2 separate regions of the Homo sapiens genome follow, and region 2 is linked to region 1. Evidence: promoter capture Hi-C in human tissues and cell types (Jung and others, 2019). All regions are on one chromosome and are shown on one strand. The core of a region is centred on a gene start or on the middle of the fragment in contact, and the rest is flanking DNA. Distances in the headings are between cores, read along the strand shown. Region 1 holds the start of UGT2B11 (UDP glucuronosyltransferase family 2 member B11). Region 2 has its middle 92 kb from the start of UGT2B28.

Evidence for each region. Contacts are between HindIII fragments. The study calls those that stand out against the background at their distance.
Region 2: a fragment that was not itself captured here is called in contact with the fragment with the promoter of UGT2B11 in region 1 in 1 of the 25 tissues and cell types used here (hippocampus).

Annotation. Positions count from the first base shown.
Region 1 is chr4:69,211,861-69,219,606 of GRCh38, reverse strand. UGT2B11 (UDP glucuronosyltransferase family 2 member B11) reads left to right here and starts at 4,859. Exons shown (of 6, transcript NM_001073.3): 1 at 4,859-5,605; 2 at 6,886-7,034. The coding sequence starts at 4,885. It overlaps LOC105377267 (a long non-coding RNA gene), which reads right to left. Exons shown (of 6, transcript NR_136191.1): 6 at 2,840-5,134. It also overlaps the pseudogene LOC100422021. The HindIII fragment of the contact is 9,933 bases long and covers 1-6,174 here.
Region 2 is chr4:69,368,695-69,376,440 of GRCh38, reverse strand. No RefSeq gene overlaps it. Among named protein-coding and RNA genes, the nearest start is that of UGT2B28, 92 kb to the right of the region's middle. The HindIII fragment of the contact is 5,961 bases long and covers 1,757-7,717 here.

The DNA of each region.
Region 1 (7,746 bases), core at 3,610-6,109:
CGAGGCCTCCCAAGCCATGTGTAACTGTGAATCTACTAAACCTCTTTCCTTTTAAATTACCCAGTCTCGGGTATGTCTTTAGTAACAGCATGAGAAAACGCTAGTACAGTATCATAAACTATAAAACCCTAGAACAAAATCAATAGAAGAGAACATAACTGAACTAAAAAGCCCCTGTGCAACAAAAGTAACTATCAACAGAATAAACAGATGACTTACAGAACGGGCGAATATAATTGTAAACTATGCATCTGATAAAGGCCTAATATCAAAAATCTATAAGGAACTTAAACAAATTAATAAAACATACACAAACAACTCCATTAAAAAATGGGGCAGGGACATCAAGAAAGAATTCTCAAAAGAATATATACACAGGAATGTGCTCAAGATGATCAACTAGATGCAGTCAGGAAGTGCCACTGCCACCAGGGGAACACCAGGTTTTTTTTTTCATACCAACATAATTTGAACAGATCTTTGGAGAGAAAATACTGAGTGTGGATGGAGGAAAGAAGTAGTCACTGAGGCTGAAGAGAAAGAAGGCTGAGGACGCTGAATGGGGTGCCTGAATACTACAGCTGGTTCTCTACCCTGAGCGGTTTCTAGGGAAAGGTGAGTCAAAGGAATAGTAGACAGCTCCCTCTCACTATAGACATCTGGAATTCTGGCTAGATGGGGCTCCATACCTTCAAGGACATGTGGACTGGCAGAGGGGTCTCCCAGAAATTGCACAGAGATGGAGCTGCAGACAAAATCCAGGGACTTTTGTGAATAGGTCCTTTACAGAGACAACTCCTATATAAGAAAAACTTGAAACAAAGGTGTTGCATTCAACTCTTTCCCTTCAGAGGATGCCCTACTCTGTAATGTCATAGCTTTCAATGAACTATCTTTTCTCACTGCACTCTGTGACTCACCTTGAATTCCTTCCTGTGTGGAATCCGAGAACCTTCTCTCGGTGTCTGAATCAAGGCCCCTTTATCTGGGAACACTTCCAAGGAGACTTTTCTGGCTTTCATAGTTTGCCTTAATTTGATGGTTATTAGTCCTCACTCTTCTATTATTTTATCCCAAGCATTAACTCTGAAGAAAAAAACATTTGCCTCTATTGTGGTCATAATTTCTACTTTTCCCATATTGATACATTTGTGATATATCCTAATAAGTAACACTTTCCCTTTCAAAAGATTACCATCATAATTTGCCATTACTGAAAGTATGAAAAATTTAAATTATCACATTCCAGGGTCTATTTGTGTTCTCCCTACCAATAGTGATAGGATTCTCCTTACAACTGGTAGTGAATGATCCAACTCTAAAATCTCATTTTGTTGTCTGTTCTTTTTTTCTGACCTCTCTTGGTACATATTATCAAATGCTGGGTGGCTCCAAGAAGTAGACTCTAAGCTGAATATGCTTTTGAGGAAGATAATTTGGGAGTTTTATTGAAAATAACACCTGTGAAAAAGTAGGAAGCAAGATTGGACTATGGAACAAATTAGGATATAATTCAATTCAATGGTTTGAATGTTTGAGTGCTCCAAAGATTAATATGTTAAAATTCTTATAACCAAAATGACTGTATTAGCAGACAGAACCTTTTAGGAGGTGTTTAGGTCACGAAGGCAGAGTCCTCATTAGTGGAATTAATTCCATTCCAAAATTTGCTCACAAGAACTCATTCATCTCTTTTCCCCATTAAGACATGGTGACGGGCTGCCATCTTGGAGGAATGCCCAATACCAGCATCTTGATTGTGAAAATTTCAGCCTCAAGAACTGTGGCAAATAAATTTTTTTTGTCTATATGCTAGGCAATGTATGGTATTTTTCTATATAGCACCCTGAGCATGCTGAGACATGCAGTCTCAGCATAGGTTTCATCTCACCCACTGGGAGTTTGAAGCTAAGTTAGCCCTTCAGAGTTGGTCCACATTGAAATGAGGAGAATTGGCCTTCAAAATCTTACATATGACCAGGCATTGGATATGGGCTGTCTTGGAAAGGTCACTTTATACTAGATAGCTTTCAGCAGTGCTGTTCTGAGACAGAGAGCTTATAGGTGAGGTATGTCAGTTGTTAATCACTTCATCAGCTGGAAAGTAATTTGTATATTCCCAAAGGGAAAATCTGGGTGACACATAATGCATGCACTCAAGGACATTAAAAATATTGAACAATATTGCCACTCTGCAGGCAATATTTGCTCAGAAACTGTGTTCCAACATCCTTTTGAGAAAGACTTATCTCATTTCAGGTTAACAGATTATTAATAGAATAAAAACAAATTTGTCTGTTTTGTGACATGCATCTTTTCCTTCCTAATTCTACTTTGATGTAAATTTCTGGTGAGACTTTTTAAAAGTACAAATTACCTGAATTACAAGACAATCTGTGAAACAAGTTCAGGAGTAGGCATTTAGAAGATAAATACTTTCTAAGAGTGAGAAACATAAGGAATGCTGCAAATATTCAGAAAAATAAAATATTGTAATTTAGACAAAATATTTGCAAATGAAGCAAAGTAACTGTAATTGTACTTAAAACATATCTGTTTGGATAAAAAGAAAATGAATTTCTATGGTCAGAAAAATAATGTCAGGAAACATGAAATGATGCTAATATCATAATTGTGAAAATACATAGAGAAAATGAAGACGGTCTATTTGAGAATGTTAAGATAAATAAGAATAGATCACACCCCTGCCTCATTGTTGACACAATGCTGCTTTCTTATACTAGAAACTCTTCATATACAATTAAATTATCTCTTGTTCTGGAGACAGCCATATTTACAATAAGAATGAAATTTATTATTCACACATGCAAACACAAAATCATTCATCCTTTTCTTTATTCACTTGCTTTCCAAAACCTCTATTGTCAATACTTAAATCATTGTGACATTGATTGATATTGATATGTACCAAGTTAGAGAAAGTTATAAAGAAAGATAGCATTTTAACAAGTTGTCTAAGAAATGGGCTTTTTTGTTTCTTATGCTGACAGTTGTATTTTAGCCCTGAATCCTGCGAGAATGTGCTGGTGTGGCCGATGAAATACAGTCTTTGTATCAATTTAATGTTGATACTTGATGAACTTGCTCAGAACACCATGAGGTAACTGTGCTTGTCACCTTCAGCTTCCATCCTCATTGATTCCAACAATCTGCTGTTAAATTTGAGGTTTATCCCACATCTTTTACTCAGAAGGAACTTGATTTCATATTTATGAAATTGATCAAGATGTGGACATATAAGTTTCCAAAGAGTACATTGTTGGCATATGATTCAAAGATGCAAAAACTACATATCATGAATGTTCTGATACTGTTCAAAAGCTCATTGAGTATGCTGTTTTGAACAAGAAAATTATGAGGAACAACAAGATTCCAGAATTTATGTCATTCTTGCAGATGTCAGTTCTCAGTAGTGAGCTGTTATCTGAACAGCTTAGTCTGTTAAACATTTGTTATACATTTGGTCTACTATCATCCATTTACAACTGGCAGTATGTACCAAGAACTCTGTGGAGGACTTACATTACCTCCTTCTGATGTAACTGTTGTCATATCAGAACTTAGTACCAAAACACATTTGTAGAAAGGTGAAAAATCTGTTGCATTTTCTTCATTTTGACTTTGCATTTGAGATTTTTAACAAAAAGAAGTGAGATTAGTTTTACAGTGAAGTATTAGGTAAGTTATTATTTAATTTATTCACTTTTCCCTCCAATATGTGGAAGGAAACCTTCCTTTTTTGGGTCTGTTGGAGTGTGTTTATAAATTAAAATAAAAAATAACTTTTTTGGTTATGTGAAAGACAAGGGTGGGCAAGGTTGTGGAGACATTGAAACCCTCATACATTGTTGGTGAGAATAGAAAATTATTCACTCACTCTGAAAAAGTCTAGCAATTCCTCAAAAGGTTATATTTACATTTACCACATAATTCAGTAATTGCCTTTCTAGGCATATCCCCAAGAAAAATAAAAACATGTCCACAGAATTCATGCACATCAATGTTAATCAATGCTATTCATAATGGCCAAAAGTGGAAGAAAATCAATATCTATCAACTTATAAATGAATAAATAAATTGTGTTTATAAATAGCATCTGATACAATTTGGCAATAAAAATGAAGTCCTTATTTACACTATTCTACGGATGGTCCTTTAAAAACATTAAACTAAATAAAAGAAGCCAGCCACAAAAGACCACATACTATATTGTTCCGTTTACTTTTAAAAAGATCCTGAATAGGTGTGTTTCTAGAGGCAGAAATTAGATTACTGGTTGCCTAGTGCAGGGTGGATGCAGAAATTTGGTGGGGAGATGAGAACTAATACACAGGAGTTTTTTGTTTTTTTAGATAAAACTGATTGTTACGTTGGATGCACAAGTCTGTGAATTTACTAGGAAATACTTAATTTTAAATACTAATTGATGAATCATATGGTATTTGAATTATACTCCAACAAAGATTTACAAGATATTCATTGAACCACGATATTCAAAAATGCTGTTTGCATTGTACAATCATTTCATCTCTTATTCTGTGTCAAGGGCTCTGCAGGACTCTCTCACTTGCCACTGTTCTTGACACTATTATAAAGTAGGTTACATAAAACAGGGTACTTGCAAGGTCATTAATCTTAGGTGGATGACAGTGAATATAAACATAAAAGAAACATAAAACATCCTTGAGTAAATATGAAGTAATCGAACTTTGTTTGTCTCCTTGCCATCCATGTACTCAGGATGCTCCTATAATATATTTACTTTGGATTGGAGGAGTTATATTTTAACTTGATTGATTTATCTCTGTATATAAGTATGAGAAAGAAACAGTGACTGGAAAAGAATGATCGCATTGCACCAGGATGACTCTGAAATGGACTTCAGTTCTTCTGCTGATACATCTCAGTTGTTACTTTAGCTCTGGGAGTTGTGGAAAAGTGCTGGTGTGGGCCGCAGAATACAGCCATTGGATGAATATGAAGACAATCCTGAAAGAGCTTGTTCAGAGAGGTCATGAGGTGACTGTACTGGCATCTTCAGCTTCCATTCTTTTTGATCCCAATGATGCATCCACTCTTAAATTTGAAGTTTATCCTACATCTTTAACTAAAACTGAATTTGAGAATATCATCATGCAACAGGTTAAGAGATGGTCAGACATTCGAAAAGATAGCTTTTGGTTATATTTTTCACAAGAACAAGAAATCCTGTGGGAATTATATGACATATTTAGAAACTTCTGTAAAGATGTAGTTTCAAATAAGAAAGTTATGAAAAAACTACAAGAGTCAAGATTTGACATCGTTTTTGCAGATGCTGTTTTTCCCTGTGGTGAGCTGCTGGCTGCGCTACTTAACATACGGTTTGTGTACAGTCTCCGCTTTACTCCTGGCTACACAATTGAAAGGCACAGTGGAGGACTGATTTTCCCTCCTTCCTACATACCTATTGTTATGTCAAAATTAAGTGATCAAATGACTTTCATGGAGAGGGTAAAAAATATGATCTATGTGCTTTATTTTGACTTTTGGTTCCAAATGTCTGATATGAAGAAGTGGGATCAGTTTTACAGTGAAGTTTTAGGTAAGAATTTGTTTAATCGGTAACGTGAAGATCTAACTTATTTGTGTCTTTGAAGCAGAGCTTTTATAAAGCCATAAAGTCAGGGAAGTGGAGTTTTTGGTAAGTGAATTTATGAAATGAAAATACAAGATGATCTATCAATCTCACAAACATTATAGAAAAGCTTAAATTATAAGGTCTGTTAAAACCCTGTGGCCATCACTCAAACAGAACACCCCAGGAAATCATAAACCTATATATTAGTACACCTAAGAATTTAAGCAATTACACATCTGTTTTACTATATAATGTTTTAGATCTTAAAAACAGTAAAATCCATCAAGTAACATCTTACTGAATGCATAGATATAGAATGAGTAATTACACATTTTTCTACAACTATCTATGTAACTGCAGAAAGTTTTCCTTGTAAATCTCAGTTTTCTTATTTAGATATTGAAAGATATTCCCATGTTTCCAGAAGGTTTCCTTCACAGTAGAGAGAGATAATGTCTACATCTCAGATGCAAAAGTCAATAAGGGTGATTTGAAGTTTCTAATATTTCTATACTCCCTAACTAAAGAATTGGAAATCATGCATTTGAAGTCCAATTATCTTGTTGAAGTGTGAAGGTTGTTATATCTATATAGTTTATTGAAACCATGTCTCTTTATTTAAAAATATGAGACAGATTAAGGTTGAGTACAGTTCTCTATTTCAATAATTTCTCAAAATTTCTAGCTATAATTTACAAATATATTTACTTAAATGATAATATTATTAAGATCTTAGCTCAAATCCAAATGAATAGTTGGTACCAGGATTTCTGCCATACACTCAAAATAGTACAGAGTTCACTTGAACCAAAGATAAAAGGATTAGCTTAATGAGTTGTGTAAACTGGACTGTTAGAAAATTGGTTTTATGGGTACAGTAGAATTAATTGATTATGGAGCTCAAAGAGTTGTTTAAATATCTATATGCAACTATTGAAGCTTTAAAGAGAAAATAAATTGATGTTTAATTATCTATGACTTATTTTAATAATTGTGAGTATACTGACTTGACATTAGAGATGTCGCTTAACCTCATAATTCTCCCACCACTTTGCCTTTCTTATAAATAAACATGGACAAAATATATAATACATAATAATATATTATTCATATATATTTATATATTTTTCAAAGCACATAAACTTTACCTACATCTTTGCTTACATTGTTCTAACCTTTTTCAGAAAGGTATGTAAAGTAATTATCTTACATCATCCACTTTTTCTTTTCTTTATTCCTGTCAGGAAGACCCACTACCTTATTTGAGACAATGGGAAAAGCTGACATATGGCTTATGCGAAACTCCTGGAGTTTTCAATTTCCTCATCCATTCTTACCAAACGTTGATTTTGTTGGAGGATTCCACTGCAAACCTGCCAAACCCCTACCTAAGGTAAACATACTTTTGTTGGTTTTATTTTGTTGGCTTCGAAGTTTCAGTAGAAATGAGTCTATAGTTTTCATTCAAAATGTTTGACTTACACTGAAAGAAAGATGGGAAGTAGGTGGTGTAAAGCAGATACTAATTAGAAACTCATGTATATGTTAATACCGTCACACGTATGTGAGTTTTATGCATATTACAAATAGAGAGGAATAGTAAGGAGACTTTGAATGTAGGGTTGATTAAAGTAAAATGTTGATTATGCAACACCTAAGAAGGTATTGGTCATTCATTCAAATAATACTTATAAAAGGATTAGCACAAAACACAAGTAAGTGCAGAAATTTCAGAGAAAAAAAATAGACACAGTTTCCGTCCCCACATACCTTACATTCTACTTTGATATATAGAAAAGTAATTAATGAAAATGTTATAAAAAACTATTATCTCAAGGAAAAACCCAATGTCAAAAAAGCATCAGTGGAGATAATAGAAAGTATCCTGGAGTTACTGATTAGTAAGATGAGGGCTAAAAAATATGCAGGAATAGGTAAAAGAATGAAGGGGAGGGGCAGACAAAAAGGGAAAGCAGATAAAGTGGTCAGGACAGTTCTCAAGTCCTCAGGTTTTGTTTTCAGGGAATGACTAAGAATGAGATGATACTAAGAGGTAAATTAGAGCCGGATACATATTAGTAGTGGAAATATTTCTTAAGAGTATT
Region 2 (7,746 bases), core at 3,488-5,987, 160 kb before region 1:
GGGTAGCTAGTGTTGGATTTTTCGATCACCTTTTAAACTCTTTAAGACGGGAAATAAATGTGGTGGGAAGATGTTACCAGAGCGAGAAAAAAAGACAATTAACATGTCTTAGATCTTGAGGAAAACCTGAATTGTAACTGAAGTTTTATCTACTTTATAACCTTGCAGCGGCATGGCAAAGGAGACAGAATCTCACAGGATTTTACAAATTGTGTTTACAAGGAATTGGAATTGGGAGCATAGACAAGGGCTGCTGGTCATGGAAAAACTGGCCTTTAACATTCCTTTTAGTTTCAGGGGAGGGGGAAGGGAGAGAGGGAGCAAAGACACAGGGAAGGTTACAACTAAAGTTTCTCTGTTTATAGCTTTCTTGGGGAAGAAAACACATGCACAAATTCTGATGTTAGGAATATTTTAAGCATATATCTTCAGTATGATTCATCCAGGACCAAAGTAAGTTCTGATGCAGGAAATGAGTGAGTTTCACAGTTTTCGGAGCCCCTACTCGACCAAGGAAACACAGCTGGAACCTCCTCTCATTTGTACATACATTTTTTCTTCTGAAACTTTGCTGAAGTTTTTCAGAAGTAGGAGCTTTTGGACAGAGGCTTTGGGGTTTTCTGTGTATAAAATAATACCATCTGAGAAGAGAGATAGTTTGTCTTTCCCTCTTTCTATTTGGATGACTTTTGTTTTTCTCTCTTACTCTGGCTAGGACTTCCAATACTGTACTGAATAGCAATGGTTAGAATGGACATCATTGCCTTGTTCCAGTTCTCAAGAGGAATCCTTTGAGCTTTTGCGCATTCAGTATGATGTTGACTGTGAGTTTTCACAGATGGCTCTTACTATTTTGGAGTATTTTCCCTTAACACATAATTTGCTCAGGGTTTTTTAGAGTAAAATTGAGAACAAACAATCATAGAAAACATCAACAATACTGAAAGTTTGTTATTTGAAAGAATAAATAAGATTGATTAATTACTAGATAGACTACAAAAGAATGAAAGAGAGATGATCCAAATAAACACACTCAGAAATGACAAAGAGGGGATCATCATCAACCTCAGGAAAAACAAACTACCTGCAAAGGCCATTATGACCATCTCTAGGCACACAAATTTAAAAACCTAGAAGAAGCAGATAAATTTCTGGACACCTACATCCTCCCAAAGTTGAACCGGGTAGAAATAGAAACCCTGAACTGACCCAAAATGAGTTCCAAAACTGAATCAGTAATATAAAGTCCAGCAAACAAAAAAGACCTGATTCAGATAGATTCACAGCCAAATTCTTTTATACATATAAAAAGAAATTCTAGCCATCCTGCTGAATTATTTCAACAAATTGAGGAGGAGGGACTCCTCCTTAACTCATTCTATGAGGCCAAGATTGCTCTGATACCAAAACCTTGCAGAGACACAGGAAGAAAAGAAAACATCAGGCCAATATCTATCATGAATATAGACACAAAAATCGTCAACAAAGTACTAATTAATTGAATTCAGCAGCACATCAAAATCTAACCAGCACAATCAAGTAGGCATTAATCTTAGGATGCAAGATTCGTTAAACATATGCAAATAAATAAATGTGATTCATCACATACCTAGGACTAAAAAGAAATACATCATGATCATTTCAATAGATGCAGCAAACACTTTCAAAAAGTTCAACAACACTTTCCTTTTTTGTTTTGAGGCACTCTCAAAGGAAATAGAATTTAATAGTTGTGCTCAAACTTCAGAAGGTAGTGGTAACAGACTACTACTAAGATACCTTCATAATCTTGGGAAAAACTGTGGCTACTACAAAATGAAACTTGTGTGCTGGAATGGCCTTGCCAGTGAATGAAAGAGGGAATCAGAAGGCTTATGATAGTGGATATATTAACATAGACATCTTTTTTTTTTAAATTTTATTATTATTATACTTTAAGTTTTAGGGTACATGTGCACAAAGTGCAGATTTGTTACATATGTATACATGTGCCATGTTGGTGTGCTGCACCTATTAACTCGTCATTTAGCATTAGGTATATCTCCTAATGTTATCTCTCCCCCCTCCCCCACCCCACAACAGTCCCCAGAGTGTGATGTTCCCCTTCCTGTGTCCATGTGTTTTCATTGTTCAATTCCCACCTATGAGTGAGAACATGTGGTGTTTGGTTTACATTCCTTGCGATAGTTTGCTGAGAATGACAGTTTCCAATTTCATCCATGTCCCCACAAAGGACATGAACTCATCATTTTTTGTGGCTGCATAGTATTCCATGGTGTATATGTGCTACATTTTCTTAATCCAGTCTATCGTTGTTGGACATAGACATCTTATACAGTGCTGGAAATCTATCAAATATTTGCTAGTTGTAATGAATGTTCAACATGTCTATCCTTTGATAGGTCTTTTTTGACTCACCAAACCAATCTCACTGATACGATTTATGATCAGATATTGAAATAATAGAGACCTTCAGAAGGGAGATAGTCATAATACACATGAGTACTAAGACTGGGGTGTTATCCAGAAAGACCTAATTTAGAAAGCTGTGTACATAGTAATAGAGAAGATAGCACTAGGGACAAAACAGATAGGTGACCAAGGGAATTTCTCAATCTATAATACCAGAAGAGTTCAAGAATGGATACTAAAAAGTTGAGGGCAGCTGTCCTCACTAGAAATCACAGTAAACTGTCAAGGGTCTGGATCTAAGTTTGCTTTCAGACCTGAAATTTATTTACGGACAAAGACACCAGGCCCTTCAGGGAAAAAAATTCTGTAAAGCCAAATAAACTCCCATGATACTGATTCCATATTTTTTTTTTTTCCTGAAAGGGACAGTGACATCCCTAGGATAACTGGTGATTTCCTCAATTTCCAAAATGCATAATTGTGTAGATACACTTTCTCTTTAGAAAAACCGTGAATTATATCATTGGTGCCTGGATACAAGTCATTTTAGTGGGAAAGGCCAAGTGGATTATCTTTGCATTAGTTTCTTGGGCTGCTTAAAATAGAAATTATTCTCTGATAGCTATCTAAGCCAGAAAGTCAAAATCTGTGTTCTCAGGGTTCATTTGTTCTGGAGGCTCTAAGAGAAAAACAGTTCAATGCCTGTCTCTTGGCCTTTACTGGTTGCTGACAATTCTTGGAGTCCCATGGCTTATGGCTTCTCACCAACTTCTCTTTCCTCAGCATCATCTTTTCTTTTCTTTCTTCCCAATTTTCTCCTGCCTTTATTCTTTTCAAAAAAATTTGTTTGTTTTTAATTTTTTGTAGAAGCGATGTCTTGCTATGTTGACTTGGCTGGTCTTGGATTCCTGGCCTCAAGGGATCCTCCTACCTTTCTCCTTATAAAGATATCTGTCATTGGATTTAGAGCACATCATAAATCCAGAATAAATTTGTCTTGATTTTCTTTTTTTACATACATCTGCAAAGATCTTCTCTCCAATAAAGTCACTTTAATAGATTCTGGAGGTTACTCACTGGACACATTTATGGGGAAGACAACTCTTCAATTCACTAGATACATGAAGCTTCTTCATTCCTCCATTACCACAGATGTCAGGTGACCCAGAAAATGGAAAATAATATTGCGTTACATGCCTGGGGATTGTGAAAATAAAAGACCTTAAAAGTATAAAGGATGCAGGATGATGGGCTCCATTACATCTTTGATTAAAAGTCTGACCATTGCAAAATCCAATAGATCCTAGAGTCTGGTAGTGGACTCCTGCAATTTCCACCAAGTATTTGCTCCACTGGCATCCCATGTGTCAGATGGAGTATCTTTGCTAGACCAGAGATGAACATTCATATTATTAAAATGGCTGTACTTCTGACAGTGATTAATGGATTTATTGCAAACTCTATTAAATTCCTATGGTATTTCTTACAGAATTGAAAAAAAATCTTAAAATTTATGTGAAAACACAAAAGACTGTTAACATTCAAACCTGATTTTTTAAAAAAGCACAGGATGATCTCATATGTTACTTTTAAAAAAGCAACTATAAGACTTTATAGAAAAAAGACTTTCTTTTTTTATAGGTTAAAACTGAATCTAGTCAGTTTTATTCAAGATTAAATCTGGCTACTTCTTCTTCACCTCAGAATGTTAAAGTTTTTATAGGGTTATTCAAAAGTAGCTTAATTATGCCCTGTTCTCCATGTACAAGCCAGGAGACATTAAGTTCTGAGACTTATGTCCCAACTTTTTGGGACTGACTTTTGTTCCAATTGTGGGAATTGACTTTTGGTCTTTCCTTTCTTCTACAGTCAAAATGTCAGTGGATTCATTTTGATCCGTGCCATCTCTCTCTAAAGAAATATGCTTGTTTCCAAATTTTAAACTGTACTTAGCTTGGAAAAGAAGGACTAGTAACAGCGATAGGAGTTATCATTACATATCTAGCTATCATTACATAATGGAAGTCAGACCTTGTCAACTCAATCTTTTACCAAAATGTTAAACTCATTAATAGATTATTGAAATGATAACATGATTTCCTCTAGTGCTGCGCACAGGCTTCCCACTTTATTTAAGAAAATCCATTATTATAGAGCTTGGGTGATGGATAAAGTAAGGCATTCACTTGGTTTTTTTTATGTTATAGACAGAAGCTGGGTTTCGGTCCATAAGATCAAAATGTCCTCTGTTATTTATATTGATATAACTTTCTGAAAACAGTGCAAGTCAAAATTTGCAGTGTTAAAGGCAACCTGGATTTTGAAATTTTATCTCTTTTTGTGGGAAGTAATTTTAAGAATCAGATATAAAGTTTAAAATTTAAATAAATTTCTGTCTGATCTAGGAAATATTATTTCGCTATATTTGTGTTTTTGTCTGTGAAATGTTTGATCATCAATTCAAATAAAAACCACAATACCATTTTCCCCGACACCTCAATGAATTATTTGATTTCTTGTAGAGAAATAATTTGTACATCAATTTAAGAAATGCATCATATAAATTTCAAAAATAGATGTATATAATTTTAATGGCTTTATTGAAGTACAATTGAATAAAAAACCAAGTATTTTATACATACATATATATTATATATATTATATATAATATATATAATATATATATTTATATATATATTATATATATGTAATATATGTATGTAATATATATATTTATGAATTGTTGAGTTTGGACATATACGTGCACCCATGATGCTGTCATTATAACAGTGAAGGTAATAAACATATCCATTACCTACAAAAGCTCTCTTTGTCAGTCTTTGATTTTGATGGTAATAATGCTTGCGATTTACCCTCTTAGCACATTATTAAGTGCACAATACCACGTTGTTAACCATAGGCATTATATTGCAGAGGAAATCACTATGCTTATTCATAAGCATAAGTGAAACTTTATACCCGCTGAGCAACAACTCCCAATTTCTCTCTCTCCCAAACCCCTGGAAAACACTATTTTATTGTCTGCTTCAATTAGTTTGCCTATTTTACTTACCTAATATAAGTGGAATCATAAAATATTTGTCCTTCTTGAACTTGCTTAATTTACTTAGCATAATATCTTCTAGGTTCATCCATTTTGTCAAAAATGGTATCTTTTGTCAAACCTTGGCAACTGAATTAACATTTCCATTACTTCCATATACAGAGAAACAATTCTAACTGAACTTGTGAAAATAATTATATTGATATTAAATTAAAATGCTTATGAATAGTTTTTGAATTTTTGCAAGATCAGATATGGAGAAAAATCACAAATTTATCTTTATTTTAATGAACAAAAATATTTAGCATCTTGAAATAATTAGCTATGTGAAGTTAATTTGGAGATTTTCAGATTGTTCTACTGTATTTTGATTATTATTGACATAATATGATATATCTTAGTTATATTTCTGTATTTACTTTAAAATACATGTTTATATATACATATATACAAATATATATTTATAGACATTGTGAGTAAGTTAGTGTGTATGTCTTTGTGGGTGTGTGTTTTTTTAATGGATTCTCTACCAGCAGTTATCTAGTGTATGTCATGTCCTAATTAATATTACATCCCAGAAACAACTACTAAAACTCCTTTGAATTTTTATATTTTCTGTGCCTTCTTTCTAATAAATGCATGTATGATTGGAACAATACTGTCTGAATTGTTTCATTTTAGCATACTATGTAATAGTATGGTGAAGGGGTGTGAGGATGGCACACAGAGATGGGAATAACAGAGAGACAGATAGAAAGAAAAGAAGAAAGAAAGAAAGAAAGAAAGAAAGAAAGAAAGAAAGAAAGAAAGAGAACTTATTATAGTGCAGCCTTATTTATCTTTGTATCAGGGGAGGCTAGCTGAGGACCTGGCATGAATGGAGCTCATAAAGTGTACATTAAAAGAAATAGGCCACTTATGACATGGATTAGGTCATTCATATTCCAAATTCAATGTAAGACGTTCATTCTAGTCTAAATATATATCTTAGGCTTTACAATATAGTAAAATATTGTTACTTTTATACATATGATATAGGTTTAATTTTGAGAACACCCACAATATTTGTTTAAAATGCTACTTAAATAAACTTAAAAATATACTTCTACATAAATATAATGTGATGTTAATGATTTTATTATTGAGCCTCCGTTTTTTTCTTGTAAAAGAAACTTACAATGATAATACGTAAGTAAAACTGTCATGATTATACCTACTAGACACATAGAAGCTTAGAATTGAATAATAATTTTATAATAATCTGGGTTAGGTTATAATTTAAATTTAGAATTATGGTATTCTAAATTCTCAAACAGATATCATGACTATTTCTTAGTAATGGTACTGAACTCAATTGAATTTTAAATGTGTGTCATTTCTGTGAGCTGGCATAGAGGAATCATGATTAAGTAAATCAAAATAGTACTAATGCTCAATGATATGTGGTAGAGAGAAATAATTACTTCTTAAGTTGGAATTCAGGCATTCAAAAACAGGAATCACAGGAATAACAAAAGCACATAACTCTGAACTATGCACACCAGATGAACATGAAATTTATTTTGCAAATGTTTTTGCAGTTTAGTCCTTTGCATCAGCTTATATTGTGGGAAAGTAAGGGATCAAGAGCAGCTGAAATGGTATAACATATAGAAATAGAAGAGAATTTTTATTATAAACAGATATAAGATGAACTTGAAAACACCATTGATAAGAAATTAAAGGGGAATATATGTCCCACTTCTTCCATTTGTATATAAGACCAAAGCCTAAAATTATGATTCTTTATGGAAATATCTCTCCACTTTTTAGTCATTTGTCAATAGAAGACGAAAATCAATATTTATTTTTAGGGCTACATTACTGCATCATGAACCTAAACTTAATGCTGACTCTAGAAACCAAGTCAAACCATTAAGAAATGTAAACCGTGTGCAAATGAAAATAAATGCAATAAAATCACAACCGATATAAAAGGCACAGAGATACTACAAAGAATAAGATACATCAGAAAGGGCTTAGGTGAAAATATAATAAATATTCCTTTTCTAAAATGTTGTGGTAGCAATAGTTTATTACATAGGCTAGAAAAAAAATTTATCAGCATTTCTATACTTACCAAAATGAGTATGCAACCTCAAGCTCACTAAAACAGTATTTTTTTTAAACTATTACTATACTATGGTATCATTCAACAATGTTAAAGATTTAATCACAATTTAAATATTAAGTATTAATAATTAGGATAATAAGCCTTTACTATGGCCTAT